3 separate regions of the Homo sapiens genome follow, and all the other regions are linked to region 1. Evidence: promoter capture Hi-C in human tissues and cell types (Jung and others, 2019). All regions are on one chromosome and are shown on one strand. The core of a region is centred on a gene start or on the middle of the fragment in contact, and the rest is flanking DNA. Distances in the headings are between cores, read along the strand shown.

Region 1 (2,749 bases), core at 105-2,604:
TTTTAGAGAGGAGCCAGCAGGGACTGAGTAGAGGGGAGTGGCAGAGAGAGGAAGAGGCCTGTACAGGGAACCATACACCAGAGGCCTCAACCTTTCTTGCAGGACGTGGACAATGCCTACATGATAAAGGTGGAGTTGCAGTCCAAGGTGGACCTGCTGAACCAGGAAATTGAGTTTCTGAAAGTTCTCTATGATGCGGTAAGGAGGCTGCTCCGGGACAGTCCCTTACTTCCCACCCTTCTCACCAAATGAAAGTCCTTTCTGCTTGGTGAAAAAGTGGCAGAAGTGGGGTTTATGGACCAGCTGACTTCAATCTGCCATCATTCCAGGCCACTGGGGGGGCTTTCATAGCATAGGTCTTGTGGGTGAGGAATTTTCTCCTCCGATGTTATGGGAATAAGGTTCAGGAAACACCAGGACAGCTTCCCCTCCCTCCATTCCCCAGATGTCCATTTCCCCTGGGGAAGAGACAAGCCCTGTGCCCATTCCTGTGCCTACTGTACTTCAGAGGTCAAAATGCATTTGTCTCCTATCCCCCTCCCCAACCCAAGGGTGCACAGATGATTTCTGAAACAGGAAGTCCATTTAAGGTATTTGCCATGGACAAGCTTCTGTCTGGGGGCACTTACCATAACTGGCTTAAGTGCTGAATGTTAACTAGGAGGCTCAGAAATACAGGTGCCTCTCACTACAATTCTCAGGACAACCTTGGGAGAGGCCCAGGAGTAGACGGTTACATGATTTTCATCCCACCTAGTGTATGCTTAGTCTGAGGGTCTGCGTTTCCCTTATGCTGGGAGACAGAGGCCTCCTGTCTGCCTGTAGCTATGGCAGGATGTCATGACCAGACCTTCCTGTGTGTTGTAGGAGATATCCCAGATACATCAGAGTGTCACTGACACCAACGTCATCCTCTCCATGGACAACAGCCGCAACCTGGACTTGGATAGCATCATCGCCGAGGTCAAGGCCCAGTATGAGGAGATCGCCCAGAGGAGCAAGGAAGAAGCGGAGGCCCTGTACCACAGCAAGGCAAGTAGAGGGAATGTAGGAAGAGCCACAGCTCCCTGCCATGAGCTGGGTTGCACCCCCAGCTGGAAAGTGTACAGTAAGGTTATTGGTTTTTTGTTTAATGGTAGTTGGGCACCATTCCCAAGAAAGGATGTTGAGAATGGCACCAAGTCCTTTTGGGCATGTGAGACAGTCCCTACCTCTCATGAATGCAGCCATGACATTTAGCTGGGTTGACCCTCCCTGGACCAGTAACCAGCTCTCCTTCACTCCAGTCAGTCTGGAATGTGAGCCAGGCTGGAACTTCCTTGCAAACTGTCCTCTTCTCCCCATATCAGTATGAGGAGCTCCAGGTGACTGTCGGGAGACATGGAGACAGCCTGAAAGAGATCAAGATAGAGATCAGCGAGCTGAACCGCGTGATCCAGAGGCTGCAGGGGGAGATCGCACATGTGAAGAAGCAGGTGAGGCCCAGCCCTGTCCAGCGAGGGGCGGGAGGTTGTCTCTGGGTGTGCGTGAGAGTGTGGTTGTGTGTGAGTGTGCATGTGAGAGATGAGAGACACTGAGATATTGCACTCTAGCATGTATCGATCCCAAATTCCCCAGCTTAACATAATTTATGGCTTATTATAACAATTCTTAGAGTGCTCTAATAGACATTCCAAAGTAAGGATTATCGAAGGGAAAGAATTGTGCTCACTTGTTTATATGAGGAAAAGGGAGTCATAACAAATAGAGCAAACGTTAGTTTGATTGATTTGCTGCAGATTGCCGATGGAGCTTCCCGTTTGTGCTCAGCACAGGCCCTGAGCACCAGCCGACTGGTTTCATAGAGGGGCAGTGAGTATTGAGGGCAGCTGGCCTGGGGCTGGACGTTAGCTTTGGAATAGAAAAGGTAGAGGCAGAGAGTGGATTCCATCAGCAGCAGAAGCTTTGCCAAGCAGACCATTTCAAATGTTTTCATTTCCATCTGTAAAATGGGATCATGATTCAGGCCCTGTGATGTGAGGATCAAAGGGCACTATGGGGAAAGCCAAAGGGTGTCATCAACGGTGACATGGGAAGAAGATGTGCCAGAGACAGCGGCAAGTCTTAGCACAGTTGTTTGCGACTAAACTCCAGAGGGGACCTAACACTCCCAGGGCCAGTGGTTCTGGCTTCCTGCACTTCGAACACCTCTGCTCTCTGTCCGCCTCCGTCAGGCAGAATCCATTCTCTGTCCTTCTGTCATAGTGTAAGAATGTGCAAGATGCCATCGCAGATGCCGAGCAGCGTGGGGAGCATGCCCTCAAGGATGCCAGGAACAAGTTGAATGACCTGGAGGAGGCCCTGCAGCAGGCCAAGGAGGACTTGGCGCGGCTGCTGCGTGACTACCAGGAGCTGATGAACGTGAAGCTGGCCCTAGATGTGGAGATCGCCACCTACCGCAAACTGCTGGAGGGCGAGGAGTGCAGGTGAGGGCACTGGGAAGGGAGAAGGGGACCCTGGCCCTTCCTCTCATCTCTCCCAGAGCCAGGGCTGGAGGCAAAGACAGGGAAAGCAGAGAATGGGGCAGGCCCTCCTGACAACTGAGAACTGACATTCTCTGTGTTCCCCAAGCAGAAACTCAGGACATAAAGCATGATTGGAGAGTTACACATTTATCAACATGAAATGATGCATAAGGCACATTAAATTAAACTAAGCAGTAAGTTAAACATCCTGGTCTTTTCTGAAAGAGAAAACAAAATCATGGGAA
Region 2 (2,841 bases), core at 150-2,649, 130 kb before region 1:
CTGCTGAGCTCTTGGCAGTGACAGCAGTAACTCATCATGTGTCATTCGTTCTGCCATCAGGGGTCCTCCATCCTCCTATTCCTGGCCCATATGGTGTAGCCATGGTCTAGACCAGGGTTTCCCAGACTTTCCGCATTATAAGAATGACCTGGAGGGCTTGTTAAAAATGCAAACTCTCAACCCTTTCCTCTGAAGATTTTCATTCATAGGGCTGGGGTGGGAGCTGGTTTTAGGTATTTGCATTCTTAGACATCAGTCATCAGTCAGTTAACACGTTTGTGCTGTGCTTACCCTATGCTAGGAGCTGGACATTTAGGATAATTTAGAATGGGCAGGACTCAAGCCTTGCCCTCAAGAAGCTCAGGGACCGGAGGGGTATGGACAAGTAAGCAGGTAAGTATACTTTATGTCAGGTTCACGATGGGAAAAGTACAGGGTATGGTGGGAAGACAAGGAGGGGCATCTGACCCAGACCAGGGGGTAAAGCAGGGAGGGGATCCCCTCCAGAAGATCTGAGTTGGGGCCTAGACACAAGATACACTGTCCTCCTAAGATGAATGGGGTGCTTGAGCCGACTCTACCAGCCAGCTGGAGGGTTACCAGATTCTGTCTCCTCTTGCTTCTGGGTCCAGAAATTGCCTGCTGTCAGTCTAGGATGGTGGGGGGAGGGCTTGGTCTGAGGCTCTCCACAGTGCATGCCCCCTCTTCTTCCCAAACCTCATACTTGTTTGCTCCCTGTTCCAGGAGCTAGACGTGTTTACCTCCACTGTAATTTCTTCCCCATAAGTAGCATTTCTCAGCCCAAACTCCAGGTTTGCTGAGATGGATGCCTTTGGCTGAGGTGCTGGCAGAGCAGACTCTATGGGTCTGGGCCCCTCTCACTTCCGCTCCCACTCCAGGCCCTCTGAAGAGTTGGGAACAGGTGACATGCCACTGGAAGAAAAGGCCTAATGATGGCAGAGACGGGCGCAGCCACTGTGGGAGCCTGTGGACACTGTGGTGCTGCAGGGAGGGACCCAGCCCACTCAGAAGAGGTTGCCTGGTCCTCACCCCCCTGTGTCAGGGAGCTCATGGCTCCGGATCACCTGGTGTCTAAAGCTGCTTCCTCCTGCTGGATCAGGTGCTGCTTGGGTTCCCTGAAACCCTTGAGGACAGCACAAAAAGGGAGGGAGGAGAGCTCCAGCATTTTGTCAACTGAGGCAAGTTTAGGTGATTAAGCTAAGAAAGCAAAGCCACTCTGGCCCAGAGGATTATCTCTGAGGTGTGTTGGGAACCAAGAAGTAACTTAATGCCTACGAGGCAAACCAAACCCAAGATGATTCTCAACTAATTGCTCGCCTCTCCTTTTGCCAAGCCAAACTCCCTGTTATATAAAGGCCAGTCTCCTCTCTTGTCCCTATCCCTCTCAGCTCTTGCTAAGTGATCACTAGCTTGCCTCCAAGCTCTCTCACTATGAACAGACAAGTTTGCAAGAAATCCTTCAGTGGCAGGAGCCAGGGTTTCTCTGGCCGCTCTGCTGTGGTCTCCGGCAGCAGCAGGATGAGCTGTGTGGCCCGCTCTGGGGGAGCTGGTGGAGGGGCCTGTGGCTTCAGGAGCGGAGCAGGCAGCTTTGGCAGTCGCAGCCTCTACAACCTGGGCAGCAACAAGAGCATCTCCATCAGCGTGGCAGCTGGCAGCTCCCGGGCTGGAGGCTTTGGGGGAGGGCGGAGCAGCTGTGGCTTTGCAGGTGGCTATGGAGGTGGCTTTGGGGGCAGCTATGGTGGTGGCTTTGGTGGTGGCAGAGGAGTAGGTAGTGGTTTTGGAGGGGCTGGTGGCTTTGGTGGAGCTGGTGGCTTTGGTGGTCCTGGTGTATTTGGTGGGCCTGGCAGCTTTGGTGGTCCTGGTGGCTTTGGCCCTGGGGGCTTTCCTGGGGGAATTCAGGAAGTGATTGTAAACCAGAGTCTCCTGCAGCCCCTCAATGTGGAGATCGACCCCCAGATTGGGCAAGTAAAGGCCCAGGAGCGGGAACAGATCAAGACCCTCAACAACAAGTTTGCCTCCTTCATCGACAAGGTGAGGGCAAGGCCAAGAGGTGCTGTGGAGGGTTTGGGGTGCCCAGGGGTCGGTGTAGAAAGATGCCATGGGGACTTGTGAGACACAGGGCAGGGGCGCTTGGCTCTTGTCCTGGTGCTGTCTTGGTCCCTACAGGACAGTGATCATGCCCCTTTCACTTTTTGGGCCTTCTTTTTCCAGCTGTGAAATGGGGGGAAGAATTCCTGGTCCTGGTTTCCTGCTAAGAATGAGATGAGGGTAAATGAAGTGGGGGTCCAAACATGCTCTTAGCTTTTTGAAGAATGAGCCATTTTAGTCATGAAATTATTGCAGTTACTTTAATTTCTCCTGAAAAGCAATTGCTTGATAATCCAAAGTAGCTGGTAATCAAAACCTTGTGTTAGCACAGATCTTGAGGCTGCATCTAAATGAGGTGCATTGGCAGCTGCCTTACCTTCCAGATGATGCTGTGCTTCAGCCAATAATTAAACTGAGCTGTCCATGCTGGGGCAGAGGAGGGTGTTCTGGGTCTGTGTGGGACTGAGCCCAGGATCTGAAGTGAATTCTAGTTCAGCTGCAAGCTGAATAACTGAAAGGAGGTCTTCCTATGTGAAACTTCTAAAGAAATGTTAGACCTCATTGACTGTATTCACTGCCTTTATGGAGCTGAAAAAAGCTTACATCTAAAAAACAATGACAAACTTTATTTGTGCTTACCTCCTTCAGTGGTATTCTGAAGGATCCCTATAGACCCAGGACAGTCCTGGGTTTGATTCTTAGCTTTGTCACTCAGTAGACTTGTCACTTTGG
Region 3 (2,700 bases), core at 195-2,694, 240 kb after region 1:
CTGAGAATTTCTGAGGCTCAGGAAACCTTTGAGTTCCAGTCTCCTAATCCACAGGTTGGAAGGCTGACGGACAGGGACAACAGAACATTTATGGGCAGCAGATTCCCAATTCCTCACCTGGGCTTCCCTGCTGTGGAGCAGCATGGCAGGGTGAAGTCAAAAGGAACAGGATGGACTCCCAGCTGATCAGCCACAAGCTGTGTGACTTGGGGATGTTGCTCTTAACTGCTGTGCTTCCCATTTTCCTGTCTGTGGCATAGTAACTATCTCATTGTGTGGTCAGAGAATTAAATGAGACCATGGATGTAAAGAGTACGGAGTGGTCCCAACACACAATAAATGCCCAATAAATGTTTATTATTGTTATTATTATTATTATTGGTTTGATTTTGACCTGGTGATAAGTCTCAGTGTGGAAGGGAAAGGCCATTCGGCCATGGCAAAAGTTTCACTGATGAAATTGATGGAAAAGAGGAGGAAAGAGAGTGAGGCGGGGGCTTCAGACATCTCCAAAGAGCTGTGTCTGCGACCTGAGCTGGAAAGAAAACCTGAATCCCACCTCCACCTGAAAATTCCCAAGGGCAACAACTCTCCCCAGAGACATCCTCAGGCCAAAGCTGGCTCTGTTGACCTCAGGGACACTCAGGCTGGGTTGGGCAAAAGGGGAAAGGAACAGCCACATGGAAGCCGAGACCTGATGCTGAAATCATGCCTTCTGGGGGCCCCAGAAGTGTTGAGGAGAGCGTCCCTTCCTCTGCCCTTCTCAAGCACCAGGCCTCTCCTCTTGAGTTCCCTGCAGCCTTTGTGGACTGATGGGCCCTGTAGAAAAGTGTCTATGCCTGGAGTCTGTCTACCTTCAAGACCCTCATGGGACAGTGGGTCACTGAGCCAGAGCTCAGGAGGGTTAAGGTCCGGCCTGTTGTAGGGAGGATTCTCCCACCCCAAAAGCCTTCCTCCTGGGAACTTCCTGACTCACCTAGGAGCCCACAGAGGGCACTTGGGTTGAGGATCTGCAAAAAAGCCTAGGAGCAGCCTTGGGGAAAGAGCCAGAGCATCTTTAAGCATATGGGACTTGCCCTCTAATCCCAGAGAAGCCAGGGTGTATAATTCATGGCACGCCTCCCCTCCTATGAAATGACGTAGTCCCAACTCTCCCTTTCCTTGAGGCTGAGCCACTGGATACATGGAACATATCTGTCTGGTTGGCCCCTTTCATCACCCCCACAATCAAGGAAGGAGGACAAATAGGATTTTTATAGGGCCCACCAGCACTGACCATTGGCCCCTTCTCTTTGCTCTTCGCTACCCTAATTATCCACCTTGCTACTTAGCTCTGCCAATATCCCAAGCTCATAAACCTAGTTTAATGGTGATTTGGGGTTTGACACATCTCAGTCCTCCATCCCCCTACCAGATAAAAGGGGGGAAGCTGAGCCTGACTTGATCATCCTGCCCCGGTTCTTTCCTCCAGGGCCGCATTTCTCTGCCTCTCTCTCCTGCCATGTCGTACCACTCTTTCCAGCCAGGCTCCAGGTGTGGCAGTCAGAGTTTCAGCTCATACTCGGCTGTCATGCCCCGGATGGTCACCCACTATGCAGTGAGCAAGGGGCCATGCCGGCCCGGGGGTGGTAGGGGCCTCCGAGCTCTGGGCTGCCTTGGCTCACGGAGCCTGTGCAACGTGGGCTTTGGGAGGCCCCGGGTAGCCTCCAGGTGTGGAGGTACCCTGCCTGGCTTCGGGTACCGACTGGGAGCCACCTGTGGGCCTTCTGCCTGCATCACCCCTGTCACCATCAATGAGAGCCTGCTGGTCCCACTGGCACTGGAGATAGACCCGACTGTGCAGAGGGTAAAGAGGGATGAGAAGGAGCAGATCAAGTGCCTCAACAACCGTTTCGCATCTTTCATCAACAAGGTAAGGGGGCAGTGGCCCAGGGCCGTGAGAGGACCCACTGCAGATCTGGGGTCTGGTCTTGTTCTGGTCCAAGGGAACCAGGAGGAGACTGACATTGAGGAGGCCTCAGTTTATCCAGTGGCCTCCCTCACATTCCACGACCACCAGCCTTTGAAAGCCAGTTAGATCAGATTCTGCACTAAACATTTCTGCTTCCTTGTCTTTCTTAAAATATATCATCTTTCTCTGAATATTATCTGACAAAATCACCAATCACCAAGGTTGCCTGAGGTCAGACTATAAGAGGAACTTCCAAAGCAATACTGAAAGGAATGACCAGAGAGGCAGAGAAATGCCCTTCCTGATGAGGCTTTAACAGTAGAACCGCCTTCTGTGTGCCTGAGCTGTGTCACAACTCTTGAGCCTGAAGGTGAGGATGGACACTGTGACCTCAGAGTTTCCAATCATTTTAGGCCTGGGATGAGAGGAAAGTGGACAGTCAGAGCTAGAGGCACAGGGTGACGGTCACAAAAGTCTTACATCTGTCATCTCCAGAGCCACTGAAAGGCTGCTAGGAAGGCATGCCTTCAGAAGGTGCTGAACTGAATCTGCACCCACTGCAGGAACAGTGCAGATTCCCACATCTACAGCACAGCACCCACTGCAGGAACAGTGCAGATTCCCACATCTACAGTATAGCACCCACTGCAGGAAGAGCGCAGATTCCCACATCTACAGTACAGCACCCACTGCAGGAAAAGATGTGGCATGCCTTCTGAAGGTGCTGAAGGACTCAACAGCCTCTGGGT

The links. The method cuts DNA at HindIII sites, captures the fragments that hold promoters and counts their contacts. A contact is called where the count stands out against the background at its distance.
Region 2: a contact is called between the fragment with the promoter of KRT76 here and a fragment that was not itself captured in region 1, in 2 of the 25 tissues and cell types used here (bladder and lymphoblastoid cells).
Region 3: the fragment with the promoter of KRT82 here is called in contact with a fragment that was not itself captured in region 1 in 2 of the 25 tissues and cell types used here (mesendoderm cells and thymus).

What each region holds. Positions count from the first base shown.
Region 1 is chr12:52,646,456-52,649,204 of GRCh38, reverse strand. It overlaps KRT2 (keratin 2), which reads left to right. Exons shown (of 9, transcript NM_000423.3): 4 at 103-198; 5 at 868-1,032; 6 at 1,350-1,475; 7 at 2,245-2,465. Among named protein-coding and RNA genes, the nearest start is that of KRT2, 4.4 kb to the left of the region's middle. The HindIII fragment of the contact is 3,386 bases long and covers 1-2,749 here.
Region 2 is chr12:52,775,903-52,778,743 of GRCh38, reverse strand. It overlaps KRT76 (keratin 76), which reads left to right and starts at 1,399. Exons shown (of 9, transcript NM_015848.4): 1 at 1,399-2,052. The coding sequence starts at 1,453. The HindIII fragment of the contact is 5,333 bases long and covers 1-2,841 here.
Region 3 is chr12:52,405,079-52,407,778 of GRCh38, reverse strand. It overlaps KRT82 (keratin 82), which reads left to right and starts at 1,444. Exons shown (of 9, transcript NM_033033.4): 1 at 1,444-1,912. The coding sequence starts at 1,502. The HindIII fragment of the contact is 10,212 bases long and covers 1-2,700 here.